Regions from separate parts of the Homo sapiens genome. Here regions 1, 2, 3, 5, 6 and 7 are each linked to region 4. The links are contacts of gene promoters, found by promoter capture Hi-C in blood cells and fetal thymus (Javierre and others, 2016). All regions are on one chromosome and are shown on one strand. The core of a region is centred on a gene start or on the middle of the fragment in contact, and the rest is flanking DNA. Distances in the headings are between cores, read along the strand shown. Region 1 overlaps DENND1B (DENN domain containing 1B). Region 2 overlaps DENND1B (DENN domain containing 1B). Region 3 overlaps CRB1 (crumbs cell polarity complex component 1). Region 4 holds the start of C1orf53 (chromosome 1 open reading frame 53). Region 5 overlaps DENND1B (DENN domain containing 1B). Region 6 overlaps DENND1B (DENN domain containing 1B). Region 7 overlaps DENND1B (DENN domain containing 1B).

Region 1 (2,700 bases), core at 39-2,538, 310 kb after region 4:
TGCCATGTAGTAAATGCTGTTTACGTCGTCATTATTAAAAATAAAATATTAAAATCAGTAGATTTAGTAAGGAAAATCCCTTTAGCATAACCACAAACAAAGCATCTTTCCAGAAAGGAAAACACTGCCTTAAACATGACAATACTTTTAAATGATTGTATTAAATAACTAAGAAATGGTCTTTAGTTATACCTCTTTGTATCACTTGTGTCAGAAGCTATAAAAAAATAAGTCAAATTTTTAAATAACAGCTAATGCTGAAGAAATGTTTGTTTGAGTTAAAATATTGTTTAGTATATTCAAAGACATACTTGATTATCCTGCCTGAGAGCACAGAAGTAACACTCAAGTTTATTCCCTTTAATGCTTAAGGTGCTGTCATGTGTTTCCATCACTCAAGCTTTCCTGGGCTGCCTTGAACCTTGCTAATGGATAAAAAATAAGTTACTTTAAGAATAAAGATTGGTTAGTAATCCGGTCCTCCGTTTGACAAGGTGGAGGAGTTATCTTTCAAACATTTTTTGATTATTTTCTTTAAAACATTATCAGTAAGTAATGTTGTTGTATTTAGTGATTAAGCTCAAGCAATTTAAACACAGGGTTGGCATCCATAATTTAAAAGGCCATTCACTAAATCTTTGTCTTAACATTTACATTTAAGAAACTTGTAATTGTCAACTTATTAGAGTTTTAAAAATCCAAGTTGAAAAGTACTACTCACAGTTTTATGGTTACTAAAACATTTTACACATCCTTTCATGTCATTTCTCTTGCTTGAGCACAGATAGACCTGTTGACTTGAGAGATGGTTACCACCAAAGAAATATTTGGTGTGCATCTGGCTTTTTAATGGATAAAAGTTGTTTTATGGCACTTTCTTTCTGCTCATTTCTAATTAGTAGGGAGAGAATTTTGCTTAATTGCTTCAGTAATAATATACAGTTTCTCCTCAAGTACTTTGGAATAGTTAGAACTAGGGACTTGGGTAGTAAGTGTTCCATTTATATATCACTGATATGTTTTATGAGAATGGAGAGTGTTTTTCTTATTGCCTTAAGTTGTGGGGAAGAAAAATGTAATTTTTAATAGTATGAACAAAGTTAATGCACAATCTATTAATTTTTTCTAAGTATTTAAATTCACACAAAAAGCTAGAAACAGCAATGTCTAATTTAGAAAAATTAGTTCCTTTTTCTGTCTTAAGTTGCTGAATCATAGGTAAATAGAACATTAGTAGGTAGCTGTAGTTTTTCTTTTTTCAAGACAGATCCAGCAACTTGAGGATAAAGTAATAAAATAATATGTACAAATAGAATATTTTGATGCTGATGATTAAACTTTATAGTTTGACTGTGAGGTTCTTTTTCATTGACTTCTAGCTAAAGTGCCAACAATGGAAGAAAATTACTGTTTCCATGGTTAATATACTCTGAAAGTAGAGTTGCTGTATCTTACATAATAATAGCATTGGGACATGTAGAAGAAAAATGCTGTATAACCTGAAAATCATTTATTATTATTTCCTGTGAGAATCTGCAAATATTTGAACATTCCCATGAGATATCTGACAGCAGAGTCTTTCAGATATTTTAAATTTAAAATAGCCATCAATATGCAGACATTTTTGCTTAGTTTGTTTATACTCCTTTTGTAATGGTGACATTACATTGAGTCCAGGTGCATTAAGGAACTGAATAAGTATAATGTTGATGTTTTGGATTATATTTCACATTTTTTACGTTATCATTCTTTCTGATGCCCTAATTTTCTTTCACAGTGAACTCTTGCTAAGTCATACACGTCCTGATAGTATAAGATCTAATCTATGTTTTAAGTATTTTCTTGTTCTTACAAAGTTTTCTACTCCCGGTACAATATATAGAACTTGAAAGATACTTATTCTTAAAACAAACAAACACAAACATTATGTCAATAATGATTATCACTCTGAAGTTGAGCAGCATACTAGGGTAGAAAAACAGCTGTATTTCATCCATAACTTACTTGTGGCTTAATTATTCTATATAAATAATTCATATAGTAACTAGCAGATATTTATTTAACACTCAAAATGCAGGGTACTGGGTTGGGTGCTGCAGGGCAGGGATCCCCAGCTCCCGTTAGGAACCAGGCCAGATGGCAGGAGGTGAGTGGCAGGCAAGGGAATGAAGCTTCATCTGTATTTACAGCCGCTCCCCATGGCTCACATTACTGCTTGAGCTCCACCTCCTGTCTCATAGGAGCAAAACCCCTATTATGAACTGCATATGTGAGGGATCTAGGTTGCATGCTCCTTATGAGAATCTAATGCCTGATGATCTGTCACTGTCTCCCATTACCCCCAGATAAGACCATCTAGTTGCAAGAAAACAAGCTCAGGGCTCCCACTGATTGATTCTACATTATAGTGAGTTGTAGAATTATTTCGTTATGTATTACAATGTAATAATAATATAAATAAAGTACACAATAAACGTAACGCGCTTGAATTATCCCACAACTATTCCCCACTCCTCTGGTCCGTGGAAAAATTGTCTTCCACAAAACCCGCGTCTGGTGCCAAGAAGTTTGGGGACCACTGCCATAGGGAATGCAAAGATGATCAAGAATTTAGTCCCCGACCTCCAGAGTTCACAGATAAGATATATGAAAATAACCTTGAATGTATGGCAGAAAATAAGTCCCTAAGAAAATCTGTTT
Region 2 (2,700 bases), core at 121-2,620, 300 kb after region 4:
TATTAAATTTGGTACCTTCTGTTGAAATTCATGTGAGAAATATTACTAACAATAAATTCCATATTGCTATCCTTTTATTCTCTCTTATTCAGCTTTCAGTCCTCATCACCAACATATACCTTTTTGTATAGAATATAGACAAAAAATTTAAATTATAGTTTAATGCTGTAGTCATAGTTATTGGTTTATGTTATCCTTGCAATATGCTTTATGCTAAACATAGGTATAGAGCTGGCCATGAATTCTTGTTTCATGGGACTGAACTTAAATGGGTAAATTTTAAAGAATATAATTTGTTTACAGTTTGATATAACTGTGCCTATTTTATAAGAATTTTTGTTGTAGTTATGTTTAATATAAGATGAGGAAATATTCAATTTTAAGCATTTTTACTAAATCTTTTCGTATGAGTTGTAGTCAGACTTTCTCAGGAGGCAAAGTTGTTTCTATCCTTTCATAATATAGGATTTTCCTTTTTTCTTTTCCCAAGCCTAATGCATTAAGATAATGTTTTCTGTTTCCAAACTCATCATAACTTTGTAAAGTAAATATACTGATTTGTATTCATAATTGTGTTTTTTTTATAGAGAGTGAAAAACAAATCATTGGAAGATGTTGTTATGTTAAATGTTGATACAAACACATTAGAATCACCATTTAGTGACTTGAACAACCTACCAAGTGATGTGGTAAGTATGAAGGCTATTCAGTGGTGAACATATATGTTTTCTCCTGGACCTCTGAATTACTAAGTTATTTTTCCCACTTTTAATATCTGAAATAAAAGGGTTGGGTATTTGCATGGGGTGTGAGAGAAATCAATGTTGATTCTATATTTAATATTTTTACCTTTTAGCAGTTGAGATTTTGAATGGAACATCATATTCCTTATTGTAAAAGTAAGATCATAATTAAAAAGCTAGATGCATTCATTAGGCAGAGTTTCTTTAAACCTAAGTCTCTTCATCTCATCTTAATCATTATATTACAAAGTAGGCATTTCTGTCTGCCTAGTGGCATGTCTTGCAAAAGAATGAGAGAGTTTTTGAAGGCAAGAAGAAGAAGGGGGCCAATTATCGGCTTTTGCTTCCCTGCCACCTGCCAGCGCTTTTCCTTTTAATTAATGATCTGATGTTACTGGTCAATATAATAAGAAATGCTTGTACAGTTGGGGTCAGAAAATTCTGGCTTTGATCTCCCTCAACTTTCTGAAACATTTATTTGTTTTCTCTAAATTATTTCAGTTTTATTTTAATCTTTTCTATCCTGCTGAGGGCTGCAAGAATGAAAACCTACACTGTTTGTCATTTGCTTTGGCAGAGCAAAGACTGCTTACTTAGAATTCTATTTGTAAATTAAACTGCAAACCCAGTTTGTCATAAAAGACATCTGATCCTTTTGAAATGACGAAAACTGTCTTTTGTCTGTAAAGGCTGATAAATTAAGTGCCAGTTCTCTTCTGGTCTTTGATCTTGCGGAGGGTTGTGTGTGTGTGTGCGTGTGTCTGCAGCTTATAATGGGACATATTCTGTATGTCACGTTAAATAGTCTCCAAAAGTGCATTATTTTTGGCCTTCATATTCCTTAGTACAGGACAAAAATGCAAACTAGTACTGTTTCTGTATATATTTTAATGGCTACTTAAAAATATCTTTATAACATAGTTCTAAGTTAAAATAACTTCCTTTTTAAAAAAACAAAGCATTTATTCTTTATATGGATATTAAAATTTGGGAATAAAAATGCCTTCAGAGCATATTTTTCTGTAATATTGAACTACTTTGAAATCCATTATTAAGGAGTTTGAGAAAGTGAATTTAAAAATCCTAAACTCAAAAATACACTAATACCAGCCTTGATTGTCCTTCTGTCTAATGATAGGAAAAATATGATTTTAAAGTCAAAATCAGATTATTTATGCCCATAATACCGTAAAATACTTGCTGACCTTGAGACATATTAAAATTCAACTACCTTATCTTACTGTAGTAAAACTTATGCTATGAATGTACAAATCTAATCCTAGGCCAGTGAAAAATTACATCTTTTTAGCTCATTATAACTAGATTACCTCATTATAAAATTTTTGCAAAAACAAAATCACAAAGAAATTATTAGAGTTACTCATTTAAAAACTAATCAAAGTATTATTCAATGGATAGAGAAATAATTATGAAAATAGAATCCCAACTTTTAAGAATGCTTTCCTTATATGCATGTACTTCCTACCGTTAATGCCTTAGGGAGAAAGATTGTTAAAAAGAGAAAGAAGAAAAAAAAGAGAAAGAAATTCAGCTTTTCTGTACGTGATATTAAAATTTTTATAGGCAGCTTCAATCAATGATAGATGATTCTTGAAAAAATAATCTTTGAAATTTTATTTTTTTGATGGGTGATTCTTTTTTAAATTGAAAAGTACTACTTTCCTAGTAGAATTAGTTTGATGATTAGAACATTTATTTAAATATATGGAGAAGTTAAATAATATTTCACACATGTAAGTATTTAAATATATGGAGAAGTAAATAATATTCACACATGTAAAGGCCTGAATATATAAAATGACAGAAGAGACTATCTTGTTATTTACTCATAAATGACAATATAAACATAACTGAAATATTTAAAAATATAGATAAAAATTATACTGAAAGGTGGTGTAGATTGATTAACTAAATATATGCTTGAAATTCAGGGACA
Region 3 (2,700 bases), core at 11-2,510, 500 kb after region 4:
ACATGCTTCCTCATTCACGTCCCCCTGATGTCTCTACCTAAAGAACAAATGAGAACTTCCCGAGAAGCCATCAGCAAACCTTTACTCATATTCATCTCTAAATGGATCAATGGCAAGAAGTGGGAGGAAAGAGGATTATTCTTTGGAACTGAGAATGAAGTCAGCCTCCTCTAATGTACCTGGCTGCTAGGAAAAGAAGGTTATTAAAGAAACCACTGTTCTTTTATGAAGAGGTAAAGCAAGAGGGAATACATGATGATTGGACAGACACATGTTGTGTGTTTGAGTATCTATACATATACATACATACATTATGTATTCCTAGTGCTCCACAAAAGAAAGGGAACATAACGCTAAAGAGCTAAAGGAAGAAAACCCAAAATCTGGCTTATAACAAAACATCAAGAACATTTTAGAATACTACATTATTTTCATGACAATATGTGTGAAAACTTGATTTCTGTGGAAATAAAGTAAAAAGACACAAAAATGAAAACAATAACTGAAAAGACAACAGGATGGGATTAAGGACTACAGACAGAGAAGAAAAGGATGCAGTGTAAAATAACAAGAATAAACTAAAACTAGCATTGCAATAGTGCTATTAAAATCTACATTGGGGGCAGAAAAGTGGAAAACTGGTACTGCAGATAATCAAAGCAGTATGATCTAGGAATTAGTTATACAGATATGTTTAGTTGATGAGAACTCATTAAGCTAAATACTTGGTTTATGTAATTTTTTGTTTATTGTACTTCAATAAAAATTTTAAAACTGCATCTGTGATAAGAGAACAAAACTGAGAAACTATCCCAGAGATAAAGGGACTAGAGAACAGAAATTAGACCTTAAAATTTCAAATGTAACTGAGAGAGAAATCAAAATACTTTGAAGTGGATTAACAATAAAAGACAGCTGACCTATTTTTCTTGTTGAATAAGACAGGAGACAGCATATTAAAATGGATGACTATCTTTTAGTCAACATTAATTTTAAACGACATACATCTAAATAATGATGAAATAATTAACTGTGATTGGATAAAGAAAATGTGGTACATATACACCATGGAATACTATGCAGCCATAAAAAAGAACAAGGTAATGTCTTTTGTGAGAACATGGATGGAGCAGGAGGCCATTGTCCTTAGGAAACTAATGCAGGAACAGAAAACCAAATACTGCATGTTCTCACATATAAGTGAGAGCTAAATGATGAGAACTCATGAACGCAAAGAAGGGAACAACAGACACTGAGGACTCCTTGGGGATGGAGGGTAAGTTGAGGGAGAGGAGCAGAAAAAAATAACTAAATAACTATTGAGTACTAGGCTTAGCACCTGCATGACAAAATAATCTGTGCGACAAACTCCTGTGACACGAGTTTAACTGTATAACAAACCTGCACATGTACTCCTAATCCCAAAATAAAAGTTAAAAAGAAAACAAAACAAAAAGAAGAAAAACAATAATAAAAATTAACTGTGGATACAAGGAAAACATAAAAATATTAATTTATATTAAAATATTTTAAAAGACATAAAAATAAACAAATTTAAAAGATACAAATAAATGCCAAAAGAATATCAAAATAATAGAATTAAAGTTAAAACATTTTGAATATAAAAGACTGAGACCCTGAAATTCTGTGCACAGAGAAACTGTCATTCAAATTTGTAGATAACAGAAAGAGATACTACTTATGATAAGTGCATAGCCTAAAAATACTTAAAGATAAACTTCATGTGACTAAGGGAAAAATTATAATATCATTGGGAAGAATATTAGTTAAATAGCATAAAATAGTACATTATCAAATATTAGTGGGCAGATTATTAAAGAACTGGTCATAAACATTAAAACCAGTTCAATTTGAAAGTATGGCTAAATCATTTTGCAAAACAGAAGACACAAAATACGACAAATTGTTCAAGGTTATTCTTCAAAAATAAATTTCCAAAATGTTAAAATAATAATTGGATGACAACAATTTGTTCCCAAGCTCATGATTATGTTAGCAAAGACCATGCTATCATGGAAAAGATGAAATTTTATTTAAAACATGCTAAATTCTTTGTCTTACATAGTGGGCAATCAAAACAATATGATTTCACTTTGACCTTGGTAATTAGAGGAGAATAGATTAAAACATTTAAAAAATGTTTTTAAGTTTAAAAGTAGCCTAATGAAAACAAAATATGGAAATTCCAGAACACTGGTGGAGATAAACATCAACAAAATAATATACAAAAAATACAAAAATTATTTTTAAAACACCAATTTAAAAAAACCCACACTCTACAATAACAGAAAATGAGAAGGTAGGAGCAAGGCACTACAAATGGTATAATAATAGCTATATATATGCTTAAACACAGCAGTAAAAGGCAAGGACTCAAAAATTGTATTACAAAAAGGAAGTTTAAAGATATTGTGAGGTAGCAATTTATTCGGATACAAAACTATATATAATATAATTTCAATTTCTCTGTGTATATGTATGTGTGTGTTGGGGAAGGGAAGAATAGAGAAAAACAGAGAGGAAAAGAAGGGAAGGAAAGCAGAATAGATATACTAAAGTATTTTTAGGTGTGCGATTAGAATTTTTAACTTCCTTTATTTCTTTTCTATATTTTCCAAATTTTCTACAATGAATATGTTTTACTTTAATTTAGAAAAAGATAACAGACATATTTCAAAA
Region 4 (2,700 bases), core at 23-2,522:
TACATTATTTTTAAAAGGAGAGCATAAACAAGAACAATCAAAAGCTGCCAGTCACTTCCTAATGAGTCTTTATTCAGTTTCAGCACTTGAATGGGTCAGACCGACAGTGGATTCTCAGGGCCTACTAACTGTCATTATTTAAATAAGTCAATTTTAGGCAACCTCCGGGATTTTCTTCTCTACCCCTTTGGCTCAAGTCATACCATATAATATTAGTCCCATCAAGTACTGGAGGCACACACACATAGCTTATTAAATGGGTTCATTTCATACTGCTTTTCTATCTTTATTATAGTCAGTTTCTCTTTTTTTCTCACTGTTTCTTTTGTAAAGGTAACCATGCTGCCTTTAAACTCACGCAGACTGTGTTAGAAGGCGTAAAGGGAGAGAAGTTTAGATACTGGTACTAACAGACAATTGTCAAATCCGCAAAACAGGAGAAAACAGCTGAGTGTCTACAAATGCCAGATTGTAGTTCCCTCTGCTCCGTTAAGAGTTAAGAGAAAGGACAAGAAGGCAATGGAAAAATTAAAATAAATGTGTCAATGTCTTTTTTTCTCACTCTAAGAATCACTGGATTGCTAAGTGTTCAACTGACAATGCAGAAAAACACACAACACATTTTTGTTGTGACTTCTCAGTCCCTCCACCTTCTCCATCAATTCCTTAACACCCCCTTCCGCAACACACACACACATACACCACAAAAGAGTGGTAGTGGGTCCCACACTGCGACCGGAGTTTAGCTCGGACGCTGATCGGAAAACAAATCACACTCATACTCAAGACAGACACAGGTTTCCCGCGAAAATGTCGGGGCTGGAAGTTCGTGTGCGTGCGCGAATGTCGCCCGAGGCAGGACCGCACCGGTATCCAGCAACCTTTGCCTCTGCCGGGCGGCCTCCGGGTCCGGAGAGGCCCGGGATGCGCAGGCGCGCCGAGCCCGGGGCGGCCGCGGCGGGGCGGGGCGGGCAGGAGGGAGTCTCACCGCGCAGGCGGCAGCGTGCAGCTCCGCGATCTGTCGCTCCGCCGCGGTTAACTCTTCGCTCACCGAAGGCCTCGCCGCTCTCTCCGGCCTACCGGGCGTGCTGGGCGCGGAGCCGCCGCAGTTTCCCTCGTTAGCAGGGCAGAGGGTTAAGCTGAGCTGCTGTCGGAACCCAGCTCTTACCCAGAGAGGTGCTGGCGGCGGGGCGGCGGAAGGTTGCCTGCAGAGCGCGGCACCCGTCCGTGCCCAGATCTGCCTGGCCGCCATGCCGCCGCCGGCCTTGGGAGGCGGAGCACCCGGCGCTGGGGCCCGGAGGGGCGACCAACGCGGGCCTGGGCGCGGCGAGCCGGTCTTGGGCAGCTCGTGGCCATCGCTGCGTGGGGTCGGTTCGCGCTGCCGTGGCAGCAGGTGGAGGCGGACGGACTGAGCCTTCTGCCTTCACCAGCGGGCCCGCTGCGGAAATAAAATGGGCTTTTAAGGCAGCTAACGAGGCTCTGATGAGCTGCCTGGACGGGGAAGAGCCTGGTGTTTCCACATCTTTGGACTTAAATTCTAAGCTCTTCCTTCTTCCCCCGCGCCCACCCAGCTGAAAGGTGGACATTTTTTGTTATGTCAGACTGGACTTGGGATCATTCAGTATAATCTCCACAACTGTTAAGATCCCAGAAAGTGATCAAAAGACCCGAGGTTTGTGAATAACCACCTTGGGCCTATCCAGAAAAGGCTGAGTGTTTCCAGGTAGTATGTGATAGGAATAAAGGTGGAAGCGGAGCCTTCTTTGCTTGGTTCTTTGGCCCACCCTAGAATAAGGGCCAAAAGTAAAATCGCACACTGAATAAGAAAAGGTGTTGTGTTCATGTTGCTGAATATTTACAAAATCCAACCTAAAACTATTATCTCCTTTCTGATGGATGAAAGTGATCTTGATACCGTCACATAATTGTATTTGAGAAAATTACGGCAAGCCCGGGAAGTAATTTCAGGTGTTAGGATTAAATTAACACCACCCCATCTTCCTACCCCCCGTCTGGGTTTCAAGAAAAGGAGGGCTGAAGAGTACCAATTTTGTTAGTGCTCTTCAATACTGGGAGGGCAGGAATTGATCTTTGAGGACAAAAGTAGATTATTCAGTTGTACAGGAGAAAGGCGACTAAGCCACTATAGACCATCACTACGTGTTTTTTGGTTTCTGTGTTTACCATGCAACCCTGTAGTCATATTTTCATTTTCTTAAATCTTAGTAGGAGGTGATTGAAACAACCCTATTGGTTCATTAAAAATCTCAGTGAATTAATAAATTGGTATTATATTTTGCAAATTGATTTTCTTTTTGTTGGAATAAAAAATTAGGATCTGGAGACTGTTAAGTAATCTGAGGAGAGTTTAAAATCTGGAAAGCGAAGGAGGGACCCTAGAGAAAGCTGTGGAAGAGTGGGACCAAACATGAGATCACCAAAAATGAACAACTGTGATGTTATTCACATTCACCATAAGTCAGGTCCCCGCACCAACAAAAACCTGAGATTGATTTACTGCATTGTCTTTAAAATTAAGGATCAGGATCCACTAATAGGCCATGACATCGATTCAAAGGGTAGAGACAGCATTTTACAGGAATGAAATAGACTAGACCAGATTTAAATAGAAAATAAATGGAACTATCTTATATAGATACATATCTTATATAGATACATATGTACAAGAGTACATATTGT
Region 5 (2,700 bases), core at 162-2,661, 390 kb after region 4:
AAGGGGCAATAGAAGCCCATCTAAATTAGGCTCTTACTCATTCTGAAGAGAGGAAGGTTAAATATCAGGAATGGTGATAATAGTCAATAGAAAGAAATGGAATTGAGGGTACAGTAGACTTAAGTCTATGGTGATATCAGAAGATGAAAATTTAATAAAAAGTGTTAAAAATTAATTTTAATATAAGGGAAATAATATATGTTTAGCTTCTTACAATTGATGTATGACAATGACAAAATGAACATTCTTTTTTCTTCATTAACTATATCTCTGTCTATGTAAAGGAATATGCATTCTCCTCTAAAATAAGTGATTAAATAAAGGAAAACCATATTAAATATTGAAAGTGAATTTAGGCTATAGCAGACTTTCCAAGTAGTTCAGTCTAATATTCCTAAAGTAAAGGTCCCAAATTCCACAGAATTAAACTGTGAAAAGCCCTGCTTCTACTTTCAGTTTCATAAGGTACCGTAAACTTTTTATTTGTTCTTAATGCATGCACAAAATATTTCCATATTGGAATTAGTATACACATCACGGTAAAGAATTTGGTGATGAACTAATTATTGATTTTGTTGTTAACTCTCTCATTAATGTAATGTAACTGGTGAGAGATTACTTACATGCAGCAAATATGGTTATTTACCTACTACTGCGTGTTTTATTTTTCTTCAGGTTATCTTCTGAAGATGGTGAAGAAGCTTCTGCTTATCTCTATGAGAGTGATGACTCTGTTGAAACAAGAGTGAAGACTCCTTACTCAGGTGAAATGGACTTACTAGGAGAGATTCTTGATACATTGAGCACACACAGCTCAGATCAGGGGAAGCTGGCAGCTGCAAAGAGCTTGGATTTCTTTAGATCAATGGATGACATTGATTACAAACCTACGGTTAGTAGATTTTTTTTTACTTATAAAATTAGAAGAAAATATTCTTGCCTTGGCTGTGATTACTGGATCTTATACTCTTTGTTGGTAGAAGCATTTAACCTCTAAGTAGGTAAGGGTCAAAACTTCAAAAATATGATAAAATTTAATCACTAGAAATTATTTCTATTATTAAAATTCTAGTATTTTCCCTTTCATTTATCTAGTTCTAGTGGTTATTGTCATTAATTGAAATTATTTTGTCAAGCAATAATGTTTTCTTGCAACCTAATTTTATACTTGTCTCTGGGGAATTTTTAAAATGTGAAATGTTTTCACTTTTTCCCCATATTTCCTGAGTTTTCAAAAAAACTTCAGTAAATGTATTCATTCAAATCATTTTTCTTACCCAAAAATGAACATGATTTTATTTTTTAACATTATTTTATGCAAATTTAACTGAATGCTTAAAAACAGCAGAGATAGAAGTATGAGTAATGACAATCCTGTTCTGATAGTAAGTGACTTCAGAACTTGGCATTAATTATATAATCTAGTTTGAATTTGTTAGGTGACAGCTGCAAGGCAGTGGAAACCAAAGTCCATTCCATTTCATCCCTGTTAATAGAGCCATTTGGAAATGTTTAAAATTGACTCTCAATGCTGTATTTTCTCTGGGAGGAACTTAACGCTATTAACATTTATTTCAAAAGAGAAAAAAGAACTAAATTAATGCTTATTAAAAGTTTTCTGAGTTTGTTGTTTCTTCTTTTTTTCAGAATAAATCTAATGCTCCTAGTGAGAATAACCTGGCTTTCCTCTGTGGTGGTTCTGGTGACCAAGCAGAGTGGAATCTTGGGCAAGACGATAGTGCCCTCCATGGCAAACACCTCCCTCCATCTCCTAGGAAGCGGGTTTCCTCTAGTGGTTTGACAGATTCTCTGTTTATCCTGAAAGAGGAAAACAGTAACAAGCACCTCGGTGCTGACAATGTGAGTGACCCTACTTCAGGACTGGATTTCCAACTCACTTCCCCTGAAGTTTCCCAGACTGATAAAGGAAAAACAGAAAAGAGGGAAACACTAAGCCAGATTTCAGATGATCTGCTTATACCCGGTCTTGGGCGGCATTCATCGACTTTTGTTCCTTGGGAGAAAGAAGGGAAAGAAGCCAAAGAGACTTCAGAAGATATTGGACTGCTCCATGAAGTAGTGTCATTATGTCATATGACATCTGACTTCCAACAAAGCTTGAACATTTCAGACAAAAACACAAATGGAAACCAAACTTAAATCTTGCATCCAAGCTTCTATGGAGACATTTTGAGATTCAATGCAATCTGTATAATAAACAGAATTATTTGTAGGAATGGCAACTCATACTATTTAAATTTTTTTTTGCATTTGCAACATTTTTCTCACTTGTTCATTTCGAGGATATATGAAATGCATTGATTTTTAAATATAAAGCGAATTCTACTGTGCTTTTAAATCAGGTACTAGTGTGTATGTATGTTTAAAGTATGTATTGACCATGAGATTTCCCAGTGTTTGGTGCTTAATGCCGTTTATTTTATTTAAGCTAAGAATGCATATGTAACCCATGCACATAACCAGTAGCTACTATACTAATCTGGTTGAGCATGAACTGATCAAGATATCAAAACTTATCAAAACTAGCCTGAAGCTGATGAAACTGTTAACCCACTAATTGCCTTAATCTTAAAGCTGTTTTTTAAGCATACTTAAATAATGTATGAAAGTATGTATAAAGTTTGAAGGATAAGTTATTAGTGTTCTGCAGAGCAATAATGCCTTTTTCTATTCATCAAA
Region 6 (2,700 bases), core at 126-2,625, 340 kb after region 4:
GACATATTAAGTCAAGATATCTATTGGAGATGCAAGCAGGATATTGATTAGGTAAGTGGATGGATAAAGGAGGAGGGGAGAATACTGGACTGGAGGTATATACATTTTGGAGTCATCAGCATGTAGGTAGAATTTAAAGCCATCAGCATGTAGATTAGATGAGATTACCAAAGGAAAAAGTATAAATAGAAATGATAAGAAAGTAGTATAAGAGGGCACTAGCAACGGAGGTTATGAAAGAGTGGATGAACAATTAGGTAGGACAGAAACCAGAAGAGTACTTTATATTAGCAGCCAACAAGAATACCAAAGAGGGAGGGATCAACACTGTCAAATGCTCATGACAGGCTCATTAAAACAAGGACCTAGCATTGATTACTGGATTTAGTAACCATGGATATATGATGACCTTAGCAAGAGCAATTTTGCTGACGTGGTGAGACAGAAATTGTGATTGAAGCATGAGAGGAGAGGACGTAGACACAAAGTACTGACAGCTCTTTTGAATTTTGCTGTGAAGAATGGAATAGCACATAACTAGAGAAGTAAGTGGGGTCAAGAGAAGAAATAACATGTTTGTATGCTGCTGGGAAGATCTAGTTAAGAAATAAAACTATATTCAGAAGAGAGAAGGAAAAATTGTTAGAGAAGTTAGTCTTTGCAAGAGCACAGGCAGTTTATTCATAACAGGAGAAAAGGCAGTCTGTGAGCGCAGATGGGTGAGGTAGGTAAATGTGTGACTTAGAGCTTGTAGAATTTCTCTTTTAATTACTTCGATTTTCTCTTTTTTGGTGAAATTAGGAAGAAAGATCGTCAACTGAAGGAGAATGGGAGAGGTCGTTAAACATTTAAGGAGAAAGAAGATAGGACATTGTGAAATGGATGGGGAGAGTGAATGGAGTGACTGCAAAGTAAAATAGAATTGCTTGGTATTCAAATCCTATTGGAGGTTGAGGTTTATAAATTTTGAGTGCAAATAGTCATTATGGCTGATGGGATTTTCTCCTGATACATGGAGCCTGCCACAGGCCTGCTGAGTACCTGCCTGTTCCTACTCCAGTGTGGGTATTTACTCTGGCTATTCCCTTTGCCTGGAATCCTCTTTTCCCATTAAACCTCCTCATGGCTTTGAAGACTTGGCTTAAATGCTGTCTTCATGAGACCTACCCTGACCACACTATTTAAAATAGAAAGTTCCTTGCCCTAGATTTCCTAACTTCCCTTAGGAAGTCTATCTTATTCTCTAACACTCATCACTTTCTCACATACTACATCATTTGTTGTTTCTTATTTCATGCTAAAACTCTCTTCCCCTACCTCCGCTACATGTTTAAGCATCACAAGGGCTTGGATTTTTGCCTGCTTCATTTATTCCTGTATTTCAGGTGTCTAGGAAAGTGCCTGGAATATAGCATATATATTCAGCGAAATATTCCCTGAATAATATAATTAGTTGATTCTTTTGGTCTGGTGATCATAAGGTTCAGCAGACTAAATTCTTTAGCACATTATTTAATGTCAATTGACATATCCTTGAAAGTAGTATTGTTGTCTTATTACTGTTATTTTAGGTTATTAGTTTTAATAGTACATTGCACTGAGTGGGCTCTTAATACTCTTCATAGTGTTTTCCTGTTCATGATACCATGGTAGTCTAATTTAGTATACTGGAGCCTGATAGTCATCTCATTACCTAATGGCATAAAAATAACAATTTATTTCTATTCTCCCACATACTTAATTTTCTTAGTTTGAGCTGACCTACCTTGCTTATTCCCACTTGTTGTAGGCAGTTTGTGTTTATATATAGCTACTAACTGAATGGCTTGCATTTAGCAGGTGTCTATAAATATCTGTTGATGTAATTTATTGTAACACTTCAGTGTAGTTTTCACTAACCTGTCAAGGTTTACTGAACATTTCTAAGAAGAAATATTTAAATTAGACTTATTAAATTTTTAGCCCGGAGCATTATATAAAAAGGCAAATTTTAAAGATTCATAAGAAATTAGTTTATTTTTGAAAGCAATTTTTTACTGTATTTATTTTTCCTTAAATTGCTGATTGATTTTTAAAACTATTTTTCTCTAGCTCTCAAGACTTGAATCTATTAGTTACCTCTTATCTTTGTACCTAAGAAGGGTTTCTAATGTGAGATAAATTTCTGAGCCATGGTAATGTTTCCTCCAGGCTGAAGAAGGAATTTGGGTGTGTAGATTTGTTTATTGTGTTGCTTCAGCACTTCTGCAGCTTTGCTTCAGTAACAGGACTGCCATGTTAACACAAAAAACAACACTGAATCTTGCTACTTCCTCAGCTCGGCAGAGAATTGCACCACTGCCTCATCTCTCTACCAGAATCTTTTTTATAAGGATTTAAAAAAGATCAAATATTTCTTTTAAAATGATACTAGAATCCTGAAATTCAGTTGTCATAGAGTTTTGATGGAGTGATTGCAATTAAATATTTATATAACATGTGTCTAGACCACTAAGGGAATTAGAACACTGATAATAGCATAACTTGTTTTAGGATTTTTAGATTCAATGCTGGAAATACACTGACTGGTAAATAATTAAAGAATTGTAAAAGGCATATGACTTATCTCTTAGAGGACATATACATTCCTACCAGTTTACTGGCAGCTATATTGAAGTGTAATCTGTGACTTTGATCAAAACATATTCTTTATATTTTTTG
Region 7 (2,700 bases), core at 115-2,614, 370 kb after region 4:
GTACCAGTTCTTCCTTGTACCTCTGGTAGAATTCGGCTGTGAATCCATCTGGTCCTGGACTCTTTTTGGTTGGTAAACTATTGATTATTGCCACAATTTCAGAGCCTGTTATTGGTCTATTCAGAAGACATTTATGCAGCCAAAAAACACATGAAGAAATGCTCATCATCACTGGCCATCAGAGAAATGCAAATCAAAACCACTATGAGATATCATCTCACACCAGTTAGAATGGCAATCATTAAAAAGTCAGGAAACAACAGGTGCTGGAGAGGATGCGGAGAAATAGGAACACTTTTACACTGTTGGTGGGACTGTAAACTAGTTCAACCATTGTGGAAGTCAGTGTGGCGATTCCTCAGGGATCTAGAACTAGAAATACCATTTGACCCAGCCATCCCATTACTGGGTATATACCCAAATGAGTATAAATCATGCTGCTATAAAGACACATGCACACGTATGTTTATTGCGGCACTATTCACAATAGCAAAGACTTGGAACCAACCCAAATGTCCAACAATGATAGACTGGATTAAGAAAATGTGGCACATATACACCATGGAATACTACGCAGCCATAAAAAATGATGAGTTCATATCCTTTGTAGGGACATGGATGAAATTGGAAACCATCAGTCTCAGTAAACTATCGCAAGAACAAAAAACCAAACACCGCATATTCTCACTCATAGGTGGGAATTGAACAATGAGATCACATGGACACAGGAAGGGGAATATCACACTCTGGGGACTGTGGTGGGGTTGGGGGAGGGGGAAGGGATAGTATTGGGAGATATACCTAATGCTAGATGACACATTAGTGGGTGCAGCGCACCAGCATGGCACATGTATACATATGTAACTAACCTGCACAATGTGCACATGTACCCTAAAACTTAGAGTATAATAAAAAAAATAAAATAAAATAAAATAAAAATAAATGAAAAAAAAAAAAAAAGAAAAAAAAAAAAAAAAAAGATTTGTTATGTGGTGAATTTAATTGCCTAAAGGCAAATTTCTGCAGGGACCTTTGTGATTTTTGTAATCTAGATAATTTTCATGTTCCTACTACTATTTTTCAAACTTCAATTTTTATACAGTTGAAATAGTAGAAAAATGCCCTAGAGCAGCCTCAGAAGACCTGGAAAAGATGGACAGTTTTTTGATAACAGTGAGGCTGTCTGTGTATGTTTGTATTTACGTGATTCATTTAAAACTTCCAACAATCCAGTCAGGGCAAGAATTATTATCCGCGTTTTTCAGATTTAGAAACAAATGGAGACTAATAAATGTGCCCAGAGTTCTACAAGTAATAAATAGCAGAATAGGAATTAAAAAGCAGGCAGACTGATTCTAGAACTTAGGTACCTAACCACTATTGTCATGCCTTTATGTTGGATGGAGTGATTGTAGAAGAGGGATAGTTAGAAATAAGGATATGGAGTTTAGAGCCAGACAGAACTTAACTTTGAAAAAGGTACTAGGATTTAACATTGAGCAAAACAAAATATCCCTAAGCCTTAATGTTTACATTTGTAAAATAATAATACAAGTTATTTTCCCAGGATGCTATAGGCATTATAGATAATGTATATAAAATATCTGCCACATAATAAGTACTTGATAATCGGTAGCTGTTTGTTTATGGTTACCATATCATATATCTTGAACTCCAGGTCTCTGTAGCAGTGGCACCATCTGATTTCTCTCTTGGTAGTTATAGTCCAGGATCACTAATAATCTCTAATCACTAAAGTAGTTAGGACTCCTAAAATTATCCATCTTCATTCTAAGTAGGGATGATCATAGATCCCAGTTTATGACTTGAATAGAAATATAAAACTTATTGTACCAAGAAATATCTTATTTATAAGTTTAGAAGACCTTGAGTATGTCATTTTATTGTGAGTAAAATTGAGTATAGTCTTCACTCATCCTATTCCTAGTCCATTTGATTATTCATTTCAGAAGTGGATCTCAGTTGTCTAAAGAACTTTACATTTCCAGTTTCCAGCTAGACTTGTCAGTGAGAGACTTTATTTTCATCTGTTTTTCAAAAGATGAAAATGGGATTATGATCATTTAAATTCCAAGAATGTATTTTAAAGTAAAACATTATGAAGTTTTACAATCTGTGTGCTGTAGAAAAGAACAAAGTTCTAAGCCTGTGTTTTAAACCTGTTTTCCATTATTTAGCTTATCTTTGGAATAGATTGTGAATCTATAGTCCACATCCAACAAATAGTAATTTGTGTGCTGGTCTGCTAATTAGTATGGCTGTTGCTCGTTTTGTTGATGAGGCTTAAATAAATGTCAAGGGTACAGCCATGAAGATCTCCCAATTAGGCTCCACATTTGTAAAACCCAACCCTTTTCCCTTTTGTGTAAAGATGACAGTTCCAACAGCAGCCCCAGCCTAACAGGACTCCAGGGAAAGGATCCTTCTCTGGTTTTATTGAAAACAGGGCCAGTGAGTCCACTGAGAATATAGCCACTGGTCATGGTGCAGAACAGTCTTAATCCTATGTACTTATGTTCTTTCATCAGTTTTATTTTAGAATAGAATACTGGAGACTTAGTGAAAAATATAAGATAACATAAATCTATAATCTGAGATTATGTTTAAAAATACTTACTTGTAAACATTTACTAACATTTTCTTTTCTAAGAATAAGAAATTTCTTTAAATAATATGTAA

What was found. Contacts are between HindIII fragments. The CHiCAGO score rates a contact against its expected background, and 5 or more counts as called.
Region 1: a contact is called between a fragment that was not itself captured here and the fragment with the promoter of C1orf53 in region 4, in 6 of 17 cell types (M2 macrophages, M1 macrophages, total B cells and 3 more). The highest score is 7.8, in M2 macrophages.
Region 2: a fragment that was not itself captured here is called in contact with the fragment with the promoter of C1orf53 in region 4 in 1 of 17 cell types (M2 macrophages); the score reaches 6.5 in M2 macrophages.
Region 3: a contact is called between a fragment that was not itself captured here and the fragment with the promoter of C1orf53 in region 4, in 1 of 17 cell types (erythroblasts). The highest score is 5.0, in erythroblasts.
Region 5: a fragment that was not itself captured here is called in contact with the fragment with the promoter of C1orf53 in region 4 in 4 of 17 cell types (M1 macrophages, monocytes, total B cells and 1 more); the score reaches 6.6 in M1 macrophages.
Region 6: a contact is called between a fragment that was not itself captured here and the fragment with the promoter of C1orf53 in region 4, in 4 of 17 cell types (M1 macrophages, M0 macrophages, activated CD4 T cells and 1 more). The highest score is 7.1, in M1 macrophages.
Region 7: a contact is called between a fragment that was not itself captured here and the fragment with the promoter of C1orf53 in region 4, in 2 of 17 cell types (M1 macrophages and fetal thymus). The highest score is 5.4, in M1 macrophages.

The regions. Positions count from the first base shown.
Region 1 is chr1:197,587,522-197,590,221 of GRCh38, reverse strand. The region is part of intron 14 of DENND1B (DENN domain containing 1B); the gene reads left to right. Among named protein-coding and RNA genes, the nearest start is that of DENND1B, 190 kb to the left of the region's middle. The HindIII fragment of the contact is 1,771 bases long and covers 403-2,173 here.
Region 2 is chr1:197,605,062-197,607,761 of GRCh38, reverse strand. DENND1B (DENN domain containing 1B) reads left to right here. Exons shown (of 23, transcript NM_001195215.2): 13 at 588-689. Among named protein-coding and RNA genes, the nearest start is that of DENND1B, 170 kb to the left of the region's middle. The HindIII fragment of the contact is 4,151 bases long and covers 1-2,700 here.
Region 3 is chr1:197,400,787-197,403,486 of GRCh38, reverse strand. The region is part of intron 5 of CRB1 (crumbs cell polarity complex component 1); the gene reads right to left. Among named protein-coding and RNA genes, the nearest start is that of CRB1, 130 kb to the right of the region's middle. The HindIII fragment of the contact is 2,913 bases long and covers 1-2,700 here.
Region 4 is chr1:197,901,202-197,903,901 of GRCh38, reverse strand. C1orf53 (chromosome 1 open reading frame 53) reads right to left here and starts at 1,272. Exons shown (of 3, transcript NM_001024594.3): 1 at 989-1,272. The coding sequence starts at 1,252. RefSeq lists silencers at 818-1,067, 1,238-1,387. The HindIII fragment of the contact is 7,446 bases long and covers 1-2,700 here.
Region 5 is chr1:197,509,920-197,512,619 of GRCh38, reverse strand. It overlaps DENND1B (DENN domain containing 1B), which reads left to right. Exons shown (of 23, transcript NM_001195215.2): 22 at 676-892; 23 at 1,648-2,700. The coding sequence ends at 2,160. Among named protein-coding and RNA genes, the nearest start is that of CRB1, 240 kb to the right of the region's middle. The HindIII fragment of the contact is 1,416 bases long and covers 704-2,119 here.
Region 6 is chr1:197,558,976-197,561,675 of GRCh38, reverse strand. All of the region lies in intron 15 of DENND1B (DENN domain containing 1B), which reads left to right. Among named protein-coding and RNA genes, the nearest start is that of DENND1B, 220 kb to the left of the region's middle. The HindIII fragment of the contact is 4,556 bases long and covers 1-2,700 here.
Region 7 is chr1:197,529,666-197,532,365 of GRCh38, reverse strand. All of the region lies in intron 20 of DENND1B (DENN domain containing 1B), which reads left to right. Among named protein-coding and RNA genes, the nearest start is that of DENND1B, 240 kb to the left of the region's middle. The HindIII fragment of the contact is 3,130 bases long and covers 1-2,700 here.